2 separate regions of the Homo sapiens genome follow, and region 1 is linked to region 2. The links are contacts of gene promoters, found by promoter capture Hi-C in human tissues and cell types (Jung and others, 2019). All regions are on one chromosome and are shown on one strand. Each heading gives the region's core, a stretch centred on a gene start or on the middle of the fragment in contact. The rest is flanking DNA. Distances are from core to core; before and after follow the strand shown. Region 1 overlaps PDE8B (phosphodiesterase 8B). Region 2 holds the start of ZBED3 (zinc finger BED-type containing 3).

What was found. Contacts are between HindIII fragments. The study calls those that stand out against the background at their distance.
Region 1: a contact is called between a fragment that was not itself captured here and the fragment with the promoter of ZBED3 in region 2, in 2 of the 25 tissues and cell types used here (aorta and dorsolateral prefrontal cortex).

The regions. Positions count from the first base shown.
Region 1 is chr5:77,405,513-77,408,842 of GRCh38, reverse strand. PDE8B (phosphodiesterase 8B) reads right to left here. Exons shown (of 22, transcript NM_003719.5): 13 at 1,386-1,462. Among named protein-coding and RNA genes, the nearest start is that of WDR41, 85 kb to the left of the region's middle. The HindIII fragment of the contact is 6,497 bases long and covers 1-3,330 here.
Region 2 is chr5:77,084,919-77,088,534 of GRCh38, reverse strand. ZBED3 (zinc finger BED-type containing 3) reads left to right here and starts at 1,250. Exons shown (of 3, transcript NM_032367.4): 1 at 1,250-1,424. It overlaps ZBED3-AS1 (ZBED3 antisense RNA 1), which reads right to left and starts at 1,820. Exons shown (of 3, transcript NR_182763.1): 1 at 916-1,820. It also overlaps a transcript of PDE8B not described here. RefSeq lists enhancers at 1-387, 388-990, 991-1,592 and a silencer at 1,409-1,578. The HindIII fragment of the contact is 7,057 bases long and covers 1-3,616 here.

The DNA.
Region 1 (3,330 bases), core at 441-2,940, 320 kb before region 2:
CAAAAGTCATATATATGCCCAGAATCCAAAAGAAATCAGTGGGTAACCATCTCTTATTCAAAATGACCAGTGCTTTCACGGCACCGCCCTTCTTCCTGAAGCATGCTTTTCTCCCTGCGGGCTCCTGGTGAATGTTCTCCTGTCTCAGTGAGTAGGCTTCCTCAGGCTCCCTTGCAGATTCACCTCCCCTGGCCCTCCTCTACAGATTGGAGTTGCTCAGAGATCTGTTCTGGGCCCCTCTCTCACTCTCTCGCTTCCAGAAATGATATTTTGTCTCCACGACTTTGGACACCTATAGCTAGGGACTTTCGATATACCTCCCAGCCCTCAACTTCCTTTGACCTCCAGGCTTGTACATTCAATTCCCTACCTGACATACCTACTGGAATATCTCACAGGTCTAACACTAAACTGCAGTCTTGTTCCCCTCTCTCCATAGAAATCACATAAACACACACAACAAAAAAATCAAAGACAAAAGCTGTTCACCTTCTGTGGTTTCTACACTGCAAAAGAAAGCACTTCTATCTCATGTCATTTTCTATCAAGAAAGCACTTCATGCTCACACCAAAAACCTGGGAGGGCCATGCCTGACATAATACTTTTCCTCATTCCTCTCCCTACCCTGGCAATATAATTCATCACCAAGTCCTATTGGTCTGCCTCAAAATATTTCTTGATCTATTCATTTCTCTCCACCTCCACAGCTATAATTCTAGCTCAGCTACTTCTAGAATAGCCCCCTAACTGACCTGTTCTCTTGCCACCTCCAATCGATTCTCTGCACAGAAGCTGGGTGTTCTTTTCAACAAACATATCTGGTCACATCACCCACCCCACACCTGAAACTCTTCAGTGGTTTCCAGTGCACATAAACTAAGATACAAACTCCTAACTATGTCCCTGCTGTCCAGAATGAGCTGAGCCCTGTACAACCTACATCCTCCTCCTCTCTCACCTGCTTACCAAGCTCCGGCCACTCCGACTTTCTTTCAGCTCCTTAAATGTTCCAGTCCCTCTTCGCCCATTGCAATGCTTTTTCCCTGGCTGTTCCTGCTACCCGGAGTCTTCTCTTCCTTCTTCTCCTGAGTAACATCTTATGCTTCAAGACTTGCTTCAAACATGACTGAGAGTTTCCCTGACCACCCTCTCTTCCAACCTACTTAAGGGCCCTACTCTAATTTTCTCTCACAGAACCCGCTTGTTTTCCTTCACTGCCCTGATTGTGACTTAGGATGAGGTGTTTATTTGCTATGTGTTTATTTGCCTGTTATTTGCTTCTTCCACTAGACTGAGCTCCATGATGTCAGTGTGATGTATTTTCAGAGCACGGCCCTGTGTGAGGGCCCCTGACTGCAGAGTGCAGGCAGCAGCCGCCACTCACCTTTGTGATGGGAGCCTCGATGGTCATGGAGTGGATCCTCGCCATGGACGGATAGCGACGATTCTGCAGGCTTGGTGCTGGAGAGAAGGCAAGAAAGCTGTGTCCAGTTCCGGTGGCTCAGTGTGGCTAAGTGCAGCAAAGGAGTCCCTTCATGGACCAGGGCCCGCTTCTCACAGGGCCACCCTCCCACCTAAAAAGCCATGAATTCACCCATCTCTTCTGCCAAGGCTGGTAGCCCAACTGCTACTTGCCTGAGTCTGGAAAGGCGATCTGGCCTGGAACTTTGGAGGCAGGAGGGCTTGCTGAGCCCCAAGTCCACAAGGGGAATTTCAGAGAAGGTTGATGAGGTCCAAAAAGGCCTCATTCCAACAGCTTAATGACCCCCACACGGCTCACTTTCCCCCAAGTCACCCAAACCCAACTTTTGCAGTTCCATGACTTTCAGTCCTAAGCTGCTGGCCGTGTAACCAGATGACTGTGCAGCCAGCTTGAGAGGGGAGGCAGTTCATGGTTAGGGTCAGGGCGGAGGATTGAGCCCATTCTCAGTCTGAATTAGGGCCAGTCACTCCGCCTGCCCATGCCTTTAGGCTCTTAACTCCCAGAAACCCATGGAAGTTCTAGTTCAAATCTACAGAAGCTTTCATTTTTTAAAAAATCTTTTATTTTTCTACATAGTTAATGTTTATACTTGGTTTAAGATGCCAAGGGTAGAAGCTTGACTTGAAAAGCACTGTTCTCATCAGATCTTCCTACCACCCCCTCTGAGGCAGGCAGGAGGGGGAGTCCCATTTCATGGATGGGATCACTGAACCCACCCCACATCAGAGCCTGCCTCCTGCTCAGCCACCTCTGGGGTCCCCCCGCTGCTAGTGCAGCAGCCATTGCAGACCTGCATGCTCTTCAGCCTCCACTGTGCCCGTACTGGAAAGAAGACAGTCCCCTTCAAGTTCTGCTCCAAAAACAGTGAATCCAGTTCAAATTCCCTCATCCCTTATCCTCTCAGACTAAAATATTCTATCTATCCGCTCAATCCATCTCAAAAATCTCTCGATTCATATTCTCTTTATATTATTGGTTACTGTCCCTCACATGCCCTGTGAATTATCATCTTGTCTCTAGCATCTTTGGTTCTTGCTATGTCAGCCACTTTTTAAATTTTTTTTATTTTTATTTTTATTTTGAGATGGAGTTTCGCTCTTGTTGCCCAGGCTGGAGGCACGATCTAGCTCACCACAACCTCCGCCTCCTGGGTTCAAGCGAATCCCATGCCTCAGCCTCCTGAGTAGCTGGGATTAAGGCATGCGTCATCACACCCAGCTAATTTTGTATTTTTAGTAGAGAGGGGGTTTCACCATGTTGATCAGGCTGGCCTCGAACTCCTGACCTCAGGTGATCCGCCTGCCTCAGCCTCCCAAACTGCTGGGATCACAGGCATGAGCCATCGCACCTGGCCTATGTCAGCCACTTTCATACTCAGTCTTCCTACTGTGTACAGAAGGACTGGAAAGTCCCTCCCTTGTCCTTTCTGTTGACTCTCTTAAGTTACCAGCCTCATCTCTCTTTTCTATCACAGGCACTAACCATCCCCTCCTCACACCCCAGAACGTGTCCTCCCATTTGCCAAATAAAAATCAAATGAGCGAGTGAAATCTACTAGTCTGTTGTCCGCTCTCGAGTTCTGATATCCACAGCATCTAACACTGCTGGCCACCGCCTTTCTCAATCCCCTCTTGTTCTTGGTTCATGTGACACTGCACTCTCATGGTCACCCCCAGCTCTTCTGTCCTCTTTACTGGCCCTATTTCCACTGCCCACCCCCTGGCTGAGACTATGCCTTCAGGCTCAGGCTTGGACCCTCTGTCCTTTCACTACATGCACATCACACACCCCTTAGAGATGTTCTTCTGCTCCTGGCTTCACCTGTCACCACTAGGACTGCCAACTC
Region 2 (3,616 bases), core at 1-2,500:
CCTAATAAACACCCCCAACCTTCCCCCAACTCCTCTACCCCCGCCCCCACCCCGGCACTCACCATCCTTCAAGTCCATGTGTGACCTGATTCTTCTGGGAGGTGAGACAAGAGCTGAGATACAGAAACTGTCACACTGACCCTCTGCGCTTGCAAAAAGGCAGAGGGTCTATTGAGCTGGTTAACACTTAAGCCGTCAGCTGATGGTAAGGCTAAAAGAGCACACTGTAACACACGCCCATTTGGGCTCCGGGAATCACGGGATCCTGCCCCTGGACACTGCCGTGGGGCTGGAAGCCCAGCGCCCCAGCTTTTGCACCCTGGCTCCTGCACCCGTCCGTCTGCATGCTCCACCTCCCATAAGGGGTTTCAGCAGGCAGAGACCGAACACACGAGCCACAACCCTGTTGCACGTCCTGCAAAGGGCTGTGGGAGGGCGGGGGCCGGGAGGAAATCAGGGAACTCTCCTGTTTCATTGTCACAAGACTTGCAAGGCTTCCTTAAGAGAGGGGTACACTTCCCCACCCACTGACAGCAAGTTTTGACCAATAGAAAGTGAGCAGAACTGAGGCATGCGGAATGTGAGTTTGGAAAGCAGCTTGTGCCAGTCATGTACAGGAGCTAATTGTTAAATTTCCAGGAACTTGGCAAGCCACTTGTTGGACTGTTTGTAGCTTGAAATCGGCCATTGTGGGAGCATTTACATCATAGAAATAGCAAACACTACATATCTGGACTTCCCCCTTCTCCCTCAAAGTTGGTTTACCAGCCCAGCAGGGAGCATGGCCCAGAAAAGTTGACCTTTCAGCCTGGAGTGAAGAAAACTGGTGGAGTACTGCCAAAGCTCCCTGCAGCCACAGTAATTCGCTTGAGAAATGGACCTTTAAGCCACTGAGTTGCAGGGGTTGTTCGTTACCTGAGCATCATCTAGCCAAAGCTGGTACACCATGCTGGTGTTTTGGTGAACACCAATAAGCGCCGCCTTCATCTGTCCCAACCTAGGTTGGAGGGATTTCTTCCAATAACTTGTGACATCATGCGCCTACAGCCTGCAAAGATGCAAACCGCGCTCTGAGACTCAGGCCCGGGAATTCAGGTCTTGGAAGGTTAATGCAAAGTTGTAAAACAATAGTTACATTTCAACCACACTCAGCTATTGCGTCATCTTAAAACCCTGGCCAACACAAATCTGTCGCTCGCGATCCTTGGCGGTTTCAGAGCGACTCCCCTACCGCTTTCGGGCGAAGGCCACACGTGACGGCCCCCCTTTCCCCGCAGACGTGTGAATGCAGCGCTGTGTCTTTAAGGGGCACGCGCGGAGGTTTTCCGTCCGGGACAAAATGTCAGCGAGGCGCCTGGAGGGGGATCTACCATCTCGGACTCCCGACCCGCCGCCGGCTCCGGCCGCGTTTCCCGGGTAAAGGGGTGAGTGTGGGCTTCCAGACTCGGTGGCGAGGCGGGCTGGGCCGGGCAGCGGGGAGCGCAGGTGAGCAGCGACCGCGGACGCCCCTGCCGGCCTCCCTGGCACCCGCGCGGGGCGTGCCCTTCGCTGGGCTGCCCTTCTCCGGGCCGGCTGTCGCGACTGTGAGAAAGCAGGTGGGCCCGGGATTCTGTGGCAAGGCCCCGCTCACCGTCTTCCAGTGCCTCATTCTTGCTCCTTCCCTGCACTCCTCTTTCGACAAGCTTGTTCGGAATGTGGAAATTCGTCACCACTCTCCTGCTCTCCCTTTATTAAAGTTGTCTGATTACAGTCTTTTCACTGGGCAAGTGACTGGACGCCCTGCAGTGGGTTCTTTCTGTAACTGGGACTTGCTTGATGTCGCCCACTTTCGGAGGGAGAAAGCGAATGCAAGCCAAAAGCTTACACCAGAATCCCCACCCCTCCCCCACCCCTCATGGCCCCCAAACAAAAGAATTTTCCGCTCCTTTCGGAGTCCGCTGGAGCAGTTTCTGTGATTTCTTGCACGAACCAAATGCCCGAGGCTTAGCAAAGCAAAAACCCCCTTGAAGGAAAAAAATAAATACTTACCACTAGTCGAATTTCTAATGAGCCAAGACTACAAAGATAAGGTGTTTAAGAGAAACAGTTGTAGAAACAGCTTAATACATTGACCTAATTAGGGTAATTATTTTCTGCTGTTTTTATTCATATGCTGACACCTTTTGGAGGCAAGAATAGCTTGAGGCAGCCAAGAATAAAAAAAAAAGTAGACAGCAATACGTATTATAAAAAGACCAAAAGCCCAAGCCAGGTAATTCTCAATTTAAAAATTAAATTAAAAAAATCTTTGAGTCACAAAGGCCTTCAAAGTAGGGCAGCTTTAAATTCCTATAACTCAGATTAAATTATGCATTTTTACAAGATAAAATGGATCACCACCTTAATCTTTAGGACCATATCTATTAAGCAAAGTAATGCAGACCTGAAATAAAGGTCCACTTTAAGGGCAGAACACTTCACAATTTTCATTTTTAAAAGTGCATTAATAGAGAGAGAGAGTGCTTCTCTGCCTTTTAGCTAATGGTAGAAATATCTAAGAGTTTGGCTTATGCCATTTAGGAAACAACTCTGATTCACCCCTTAATTACCTGTGAGTCCAGTGTATTTTTTACAGTCCACATATAACCTTTTTCTAAATTTTTACACATTTTACCATTTATTCCCCAACTCAGGTTTTACAGTTTGGAGGCATTTTTACTTGTCTTTTAACTTCAGCTAAGCCTTCAGCCTGGTGATTCCAGACTAATTTTTCTAATTGTCTGGATCTCTTTATAAATAGATTAATATATGGCAGTAAACTAATATTTCAACAGAGATGGACGGATAACAGATGAACTGTGGTTTTCTTGACACTTCAGTTGTCAACTCTAATTACTTGTATTAATTATTATGCTCTGCTTTCATTAAAGTCACTGGTGGATGAAGTAAAAGAAAATGTTTTTAGTGTTTCCACATATGTCTGTGTGAATTTCACGTTAGTGTGAATTTCTCATCTAAGATCCAGGCTCAACCAACATATATTGATTTAAACTCTGCCTGGTCAACCCAACTACAGTAAGTAGCCTTGAGTATAGAAGGACAAATAGAGGTGTAGTTAATCTGCTATGTCCTTTTGAGAACAGTGCCTGGTTCTTTGGCCTTTAGCCTGCCAAATATTTTTTATGTGCACAAGCATAAGTATAAAATAATACAATCAACTTTTGTAGGTGCTTTATAGGATGAGTCTCAATATTATAGTCATACCTTGTGTATATGCCCATGTTTATACAGATTATTCATCCAGGTTTTGATCTCTTCCTTTATTCTTTATATTGGTATTCAGGGACATCATACTGAGGAATCTGGGATTTAATCTGATAGTTCATCAGAAGGATAGAACTTCTTCAGAAATTGAGTCAAATGGAGAGATAATTAATGTGAATTTATTGTCTTCCACAGGCTTAGATTTAAGAACTCCTTCCAAATAATGGATACTCAAATGAAACTCAGCTATAGCAAGTGCAGAGGCATGGTACCAGCAACACTACTCTCTCTCCTTCCTTGAAATATCTAAAATCTACATTTGTCTTTTCAGTTTTTTTCACCCTGAAATTACACTCAAAAATTTCCACTGTTA